Linked DNA regions of Homo sapiens: regions 1 and 3 are each linked to region 2. Evidence: promoter capture Hi-C in human tissues and cell types (Jung and others, 2019). All regions are on one chromosome and are shown on one strand. Each heading gives the region's core, a stretch centred on a gene start or on the middle of the fragment in contact. The rest is flanking DNA. Distances are from core to core; before and after follow the strand shown.

Evidence for each region. Contacts are between HindIII fragments. The study calls those that stand out against the background at their distance.
Region 1: a contact is called between a fragment that was not itself captured here and the fragment with the promoter of SARDH in region 2, in 2 of the 25 tissues and cell types used here (lymphoblastoid cells and spleen).
Region 3: a fragment that was not itself captured here is called in contact with the fragment with the promoter of SARDH in region 2 in 3 of the 25 tissues and cell types used here (bladder, mesendoderm cells and thymus).

Annotation. Positions count from the first base shown.
Region 1 is chr9:133,900,923-133,903,622 of GRCh38, forward strand. All of the region lies in intron 2 of VAV2 (vav guanine nucleotide exchange factor 2), which reads right to left. Among named protein-coding and RNA genes, the nearest start is that of VAV2, 90 kb to the right of the region's middle. RefSeq lists an enhancer at 1,951-2,020. The HindIII fragment of the contact is 4,251 bases long and covers 1-2,700 here.
Region 2 is chr9:133,737,034-133,739,733 of GRCh38, forward strand. SARDH (sarcosine dehydrogenase) reads right to left here and starts at 1,319. Exons shown (of 21, transcript NM_001134707.2): 1 at 1,221-1,319. The HindIII fragment of the contact is 19,009 bases long and covers 1-2,700 here.
Region 3 is chr9:133,967,135-133,969,834 of GRCh38, forward strand. All of the region lies in intron 1 of VAV2 (vav guanine nucleotide exchange factor 2), which reads right to left. Among named protein-coding and RNA genes, the nearest start is that of VAV2, 24 kb to the right of the region's middle. The HindIII fragment of the contact is 3,149 bases long and covers 1-2,700 here.

The DNA of each region.
Region 1 (2,700 bases), core at 69-2,568, 160 kb after region 2:
CCGAGAAGCTGGGATTACAGGTGCGTGTCATCACGCCCGGCTAATTTTTGTATTTTTAGTAGAGACGGGGTTTCACCGTTTTGGCCAGGCTGGTCTCCAACTCCTGACCTCAGGTGATCTGCCCGCCTCAGCCTCCCAAAGTGCTGATATCATAGGCATGAGCCACCGTGCCCAGCCTCTCCTGTCTGATTTTCCAGTGAACCTTAAGGGGGCCAAGGGCCTTAGCCCCAACACTCTCAACTGATATTGAAAACCATGGCCCAGTTTTAGGAACATTTCATGTAAAAGCACCACTCCGGGGGCCCAGTGGTCACAATGGCGACCATTTATTGGGCGCTTGCCATTCAACAGGCCGGCTACCCACTCCCCACGGGTCTCCTCAGATCGTCTCCTCCCGAGCCTCAGAAGAGGCATGGTTATTCCCCGTTTGTGACAGGGACCCTGAGGCAGAGTAAAGATGGCTGCACACTCTCTGAGACTCCTCCCATCAAGAGGCAGGGTCTGTGTCCTCCCCGGATCCAGCATGGCCTGTGGTGGCTCTGACCAGGGGAGCCTGTCGGGAGAGCCATGGCACCACCTCGAGCCTGGTCTCATGAGGCCTAGAAGCTTCCGTGGGTGCCACATAAAAAAGTCCAACTACCTTGCCAGAGAGCCCACATGGGGAGGCTGGCCCTGAGCCGCAGGGGCCTCTCCTGCCCTCCAGCAAGGGCCCGGAGCTGCCCTGAGGGGCTCCTGCCGGCCCGGCCTGGTGACTCTACCTAGGTCTGTAGGCACTGGGCTGGGCCCATCCCTCCTGGGGTATTTATTTCCCCCACTGTTCTGACACCAGGCCCTCCCGTAAGCACAGACAGCCCTGCTGTCCCTGACTCTGGAACCCCAGCGCCCACTGCCACATTCTACCTTTTCCCAGGAGACGGGCCGATGGGGTCAGTGGCAATGTGCCACCACCATCGGAGGGGGCTGGGGGTGGGGAGGACAGCTGCGCTCCAGAGGCCAAAGGAGATGGGCCGACGTCCCTACCATGCACCTCCTCCTACCACACATCTCTGCCTGCCTTAGTGGTCTGCACGTCAGGAGACTCTGTGGATGCTCCGAGCCTCCATGTCCTACAGGTCAGACCAGAACCTCCCACCCCCACCTCTCTGGGCCAAAAGTGACACAGTTTCGTCAGGACCATGGAGATCACAGACTTGGACCCAGGAAGACCCAATTTAAGGCCAGGCCCATCAGCTCCCCCTGCAATTGGCCTCCCTGAGACCCAACTTCATTGTCTATACACTGGGATAGGAACGGGCATCTGCGTCGGACGTGTGAGGACCACGCAGGACAATCCACACAACATGCACAGGGCCTGGGACATGTCAGAAGCCTCTGCTGCAGGACACAGGACACCTGGCCCCACGAAGGCAGAGCCCTCTGAATTTGACCAAACCTCCTCCATGCAGACACGGCTGCGGCCTTGGGGCTACCACATCCCCAGATTTGCGGAGCCTGAAATGCGGCCAGCACTGGAAGCGGGGAGACTCCCACATTGAGATGTTTCTGTTCTCCCAGAGCTCCAGTAGAGAAAATGTTCACCCACAAACCCCCCAGGGTATCCAGAGGCCAGGGGTGCTGGGGTGCAGGCTGCAGACAGGTTCCCACATTTGGTGCAGGGGAAGACACACATCTGCTCAAAAGAAAAATGAGGGAGTGTTTCGGGTTGAACTGTGTCCCCTCAAAAAAGATACATAGGGGTGCTAATCCCCAGGACCTCAGAATTTAACCTTACTTGTACAGAGACTTCAAAGAGAAATCAAGTTAAAATGTTGTCACTGGGGTGGGACCTAATCCAATATGACCCGTGTCCTTATAAAAAGAGGAAGTTTGCCAGGCGCAATGGCTCACGCCTGTAACCCCAGCACTTTGGGAGGCCAAGACAGGTGGATGGATCACTTGAGGTCAGGAGTTCAAGACCAGCCTGGCCAACGTGGTAAAACCCCATCTCTACTAAAAATACAAAATTAGCTGGGTGTGGTGATGCACACCTGTAATCCCAGCTACTAGGGAGGCTAAGGCAAGAGAATCACTTGAACCCGGGAAGTAGAGGTTGTAGTGAGCCAAGATCAGGCCACTGCACTCCAGCCTGGGCAACAAGAGCGAAACCCTGCCCCAGGAAAAAAAAAAAAAAAAAAGAGGTAGTTTGGACACAGAGATAGGCACAGAGGAAAGACGACAAGAATACAAAAAGAGAAGACGCCGTCTGCAAGCCCAGGAGAGTGCCCCGGGACACAGTCTCCCTGTGCCCCAGAAGGCACCAGCCCCGCCGCCACCCTGATCTCAGACTTCCAGCCTCATTTCGGTTCCAGTACATTTCGGTGGTTTCACAGGGCTCCTTCCCTCCCCGCTGCACTGTCCCTCGGGCCCCTTCCTCTACCCCACGCTGGGTGGTGCTCCCGGCTCAGGGTCCCATGCCCACCCTGCACCGGGATTCCCTCTGTGAGGGCGTGCCAGGTCTGCCCCATCCCCTGGAGCCCCACATCAGGCTCAAAAGACAGGGGCTGAAACAACAATCCCGGGAGATGTGACGGCCACATCACCTGCCAGTCAGGAGAGGTTTTGTATCACTTAGAAAATATGGGGGTGGGGGCTGCACACAAGCCTTTTCTGGGGTTCTCAGGACACAAAGTCGGACATGGCCTCAGCCAGCCTCGGGTCCGG
Region 2 (2,700 bases), core at 69-2,568:
CCAGGGTCATAGGGCCTCCATGTGGCAGTGCCAGGGACTCTCTCCTGCCCCCTCTTCTGACCATCCCAGGGGGACTCAGGACCCACTGCCACACTCTGTCCCACCTGAACTGTGGGCACTGCCCAAGCCCTGACGAAGCCCAGAACCCTGTCCTAGGCACAGTGGGGGATGTGAGGGGGATCCCAGCTCTCAGGCTGGTCAGGGCTGCCCCCCATCTCCTGCCCCAGTGCCCCATCCCAAGGGAGGGAGCAGGGAGTCTGATTGCAGCGGCGTAGGGGAGTGAGGAGGTGTTGGAGCTTGTCCTCAGCCTCTCAGCCCTCAGTGTGTCAGCCCGCCTGGCTCCTGCCTGCAGAGGTGGCCCCGGACAAGGAGGCATGCCTCCTGCATGTGTCTGTACATACCTTCAGTCCTTGAAGGTCCACAGTCTTCCAGGAGCCCCCAAAAGTGGTGCCCCACCAGGGGAAAGCCAGCTTGAGTGGCACCGAGGAAGGCCCTCCAAGGCTGAACACCCCCACCCCACCACCCACCACCCACCACGGTGCCGCATGGCACAGCACACCTGGTCAGCTGTGGGCAAAAGCCTCCCTCCTCCTTCCGACTGTGCCCAAAAAGCGACAGCTGCTGGCGCCGGAGGCTGCCACGTGCCCCTTCACCACCTGCCTGGTCAGTCAGGGCTCTTCTGACTGTCAGACTGGGGGCTGGCAGCGGCCCCAGCGGGGACAGCCCAGAGCCCCTCCTGCCTGCCACCTCCCTGGAAACAGCTGCCTCCACATTAACCCACTCTCTTGCCCCCTCCAACTCTGTCTCGTACCTGAGTCAGCTTCCCAGGAGTGAGGGCTGAGGACAGCCCTGGGCTTGGGATCAGACAGATGGGTGGGGGTTTTGTCACAGGACTGGGGCCTCGAGCAACAACTTAACCTCACTGCAAAGCAGAGGACCCAGGAACGCCCTCCTCCTCCCAGGCTCAGGGGGTGGTGGGGGTCAAGCGAGGAGAGCGCCTGGCACCTTCGCCTGGTGAGGGTAGGCAGACTTGTGGGGAGGAGCGGCAGGGGGCGGGGAGGCAGCTGCCCATATGGTGAACCCTGGTCCTGCTCATGCAGCTGGATGGTCCCTGCAGCCAGAGGCAGAGGGAGATCCCAGCCAGATCTGACCAGGCCCAGCCCCGCCCACATAGGGGAGGCCCCAGCCTCGTCCCTCCCTGGGGGTGTACCTCCAAGTACCTCTTGTCAGCTGCAGTGCCCCTCGGCCCTAAGAGTGCTTGGCCCAGCAGAGGTGCCTTCACCTTCTTGCTTCCCAAGCAGTGGCCTGGCCGGAACTCCAGGCCTCCCCCGCCCCCCACCCTCGCTGCCAGCCCCATGTCTCCGCCCAGGATCTGGGCGGAGCGTACCGCCCACCACTGCGGCTTCTAGGCCAGCTTAGTTGGGGCTTCTAGGCCAGCCCTGTGGGCAGCTCCCTCTGAGGGCGGCAGAGCAGGGTTGTGAACCCCATGCCCCATTACCCGTAGGCGACCTGGCAGTCACCCTTCCGCTCCAACCCTCATTTCCTCGTCTCTGAAACAGGCGCCTCAGGGTTGCTGCAGTAGACCCAGGCACCACCTGCCTGCTGGAGCCGCCCGAGCTCCCCGCGCCCAGAAGGAGCTATGCACAGGCAGGGTGGGCAGGAAAGGTGGGGTCAGCAGCAGCTTGGGCCAGGGGCCCGTCCACTGCAGGGAGGCTCCTTTGGTGAGGTCATCTCAGCACATGCCCCAGTTTGCTCACCCCCAGGGACAGGATGCTCACTGCCTTCAGAGGCGAGTGAGAAGGCCTGGGTCAGCTTCCCAGGGACAGGGTCTCCTGGTCTGTCTGCGTCCTGCTTTCCCGAGCTCCCAGACCCCTCTGGTGTTTGGGGAGATGCCCCCAAGCCACTGGCTACTGCACAGCACGTAGCCCCCAGGGCAGGGATTCCAGCCTCCATTGACTGTTGGGGACAGCAGTGCCCAGGGAGGGGGCCACACAGCAAGCTGGTGGAGGAGGCAGACCGGATGCTGCAGCCTGACTCTGGGCTGGGGCAAGTTACCCCTTCCCAGACAGAAGTAGACACCCAGAGGAGGGGTGTGGAGGAAACCCAGAAAGAATACACCTCTGGATGCCCAAAGAATCAGAACAGGTGCTGATGGAAAGTCACATCTCCTCCTCGCGCTGGATCAAAGACGGGGCATTTCAATGGCAGTCTGTTAATATTGTAATGATGCCAGCTGCCAATACCGGAAGCGATCGTATAGTAAACTGCTGTAATTAATACCAATCAAATCATTGTGTTCTTATTCACACCGAGGATGTCCGACTGTCTTGTTGCCAGCTTGTCTATCCTCTACATTTACTGAATGCCCAATGTGTACAAAGCACTGCTGGGAAACCTATAGTGACATCTAAGACCCAGCCCCTGCCCTCGAGGGGCTCAGGGTCCACGAAGCAGACAGATCCAGGGAGAGACACGACACCACAAGGCTGGCTTCCTTCCAGCAGGGAATCCAGGAGGACCTCTTAGAGGAGGGGGCCTGGGCTCTGGGCCTGACCACGTGCTGACACCATTCTCAGTCCCTGCCTCAAAGGCAAAGGGCCCACTGGCTTAGGCCCCTGGCTGCCCAGTGGAAAGCTGGCCCCGCCAGTTTGAGGCTTACCTGGGGTGGTGTGGGGGTCCTGGGGCAGAGGACCTCCTCTT
Region 3 (2,700 bases), core at 98-2,597, 230 kb after region 2:
AATGGCCAACGGGCATGTGAAAAAATGCTCAACATCACTAATCATCACAGGAATGCAAGCCAAAACCACAACGAGATACCATCTCACCCCAGTTATAATAGCTATTATCAACAAGAAATCAACAGATGCTGGCAAGGATGTGGAGAAAGGGGAACACTAGTACACTGCTGGTCAGAACGTAGACTAATACAGCCACTATAGGAAACAGTACAGAGGGTCCTCAAAAAACTAAAAAGAGATCTGCCTGATCCAGCAATCCTACCACCAGGCATGTAAACAAAAGAAAGGAAATCAGTGTTTGAGATATATCTGCACTCCCACCTTTACCGTAGCACTATTCACAATCAACCTAAATATCAGTGAATGAATGGATAAAGAAAATGTGACATATATACACAATAGAATACTATTCAGCCATGAAAAAGAATAAAATCCTGTCATTGCAGCAATGTGGATGGAACTAGAGGTCATTGTTAAGTGAAAAAAGCCAGACACAGAAAGCTAAATATCATATGGGCCGGGTGCAGTGGCTCACACCTATAATCCCAGCACTTTAGGAGGCCTAGGCTGGTGGATCACTTGAGGCCAGGAGTTTGAGACCAGCCCGCCCAACGTGGTGAAACCCCATCTCCTACTAAAAATACAAAAATTAGCCGGATGTGGTGGTGTGCACCTGTAGTACCAGCTACTCAGGAGGCTGAGGCAGGAGAATGGCTTGAACCCACGAGGTGGAGGTCGCAGTGAGCCAAGATCACACCACTGCACTCCAGCCTGGGCAACAGAGGAAGACTCTATAACCAAAAAAAAAAAAAAAAAAAAAAAACCTAAATATCATATGATGTCTCTCTCATATGTTAAAGCTAAAAAAGTTGACCTCATGGAGGGACAGAGTGGAATGATGGACATCAGAGACTGGGTGGGGCGACAGGAAAGTGAAGAGAGATTGGTTAATGGGGGCAAACATGCAATTAGACAGGAACGAGTCCTAGTGCTCAGAAGCACGGCAGGAGGATTACAGTTAACGATAACTTCTTGCATATTTCAAAATAACTAGAAGAGAGGACGTGAAATGTTCCCAACACAAAGAAATGCCACATGTTTGGGATCATGGGCATCCTAATGACCCTCATTTCATCATTACACACGGTATATGTGTATTAAAGTGTCACACATACCCCATAAACAATGGCATATGTGTATCAAAGTGTCACACATACCCCATAAACAACGTACAATTATTATGTACCAATTAAATAAATAAATAATACATTTGAAAAGGTTGTGGGGGGGAAAAACACCACCAAAAGGCAAGAGAGGCTCAGAGATGCAGTTGTCAAAGCTCTGGTACCACCCATGCACCAGGCAACATGAAGAGGAAGAGAAACGCGCTCGGGGCCAGTCCCATGGTCCCCAGGGTCCCTACCCATGGGGCCATCCCCGGGGGCCTGGACAGAGCTGCCGGTCCTCTAGAGCCTACACGACCCGGGCTCTGGGGCTGCCTGGGGACATCCTCCAGCCACACACTGACCCATCACAGAGCCTTGTAGCCGGGAGAGAGAGCCACCATCGGCCTCTGCCTCTCGTGCAGCTTCAGACCATGGCACTGTCCTCTGTCAGCCCTGGGCTCACTCCTGGGACCTGCCGGGGTAGGGCCCTGTCCCCAGCTCAGATCTGGAGGGTGTCTCGAGACCCCCGGCTGGCTGGCTCAGCGGCTCGCGACAGCACAGCCACCCTCGGTTGCAGCAAATGTGCCTCACTGAGAACCACCACGAGGCTATTTCCCGATTAAAGCTTTAACAGATCAATAGCAATAAGTGAGTCCCCCAAAAATCAATCTAAGGCAGTGCCCTTTTCTAAGAAAAACCACTCTTTCCACAGGCAAAAACCACTTAAAAATAAGAGACAACTGTTTTGGGTTTTGAGGCAGTTTGGCCGGGTGTCGGTGAAAGCCGTCTAGTTGCCTGAGATGAATCCCACATGCCGGGATTCACACTTCCCCCGAGAGCTGGATTCCACCGTGCCCGCCGGGCCTGCGAGGACGAGAGCTGGATTCCACCGTGCCCGCCGGGCCTGCGAGGACGAGCCTCTGCACCTGCTTCCCTCCTGCCGGATGAACTGCGGCTTCTCACGGCTGCGCTGCTGGCATGGTAGAGAATACAACGAACAGGGAAGGAGGGAGGATCTGGAATTCAGTCTGTGCCAATCAGACGTCTCTCTCCAGGGATCTGACAGTGCCAGAGGCTGCTAAGTTTGGTCACTCCCAGGCTGGGGCCAGACCCACCAAGACCACTGACCTCCCACCTTCAAGTCCAGCAAACCTGGACACCAACCAGCATCAGCACCACTGAGACAAGAAGCCTGAGGCCAACCAGGGAACCTCAGGGGTGGAGCTGAAACACCCCAACCCTGACCAGAGCGGATTCCAGGAAGGCTGCTGGGAGAACCCAGACATCCCTGCAACCTTGGCCAGTGGGGGACTTGAACCCCTAGGGCCAACTCCAGATGAGCCCCACTGTCCATCGCACTGCTCAAGCCTGACCCCAGAGCACCCTCTTCATCACCCAAGTCCAATCCACCCCAAGCCCACCCACTCCTCCTGCGCTCCAGCGGGGCCGTCCATCTCTCTCCATTCCCACTTCTCTCCCCACCCCCCAGCCTGGACACCCCCATCTGCCTCTGCCCCAGCCTCTGGGGCTCCAG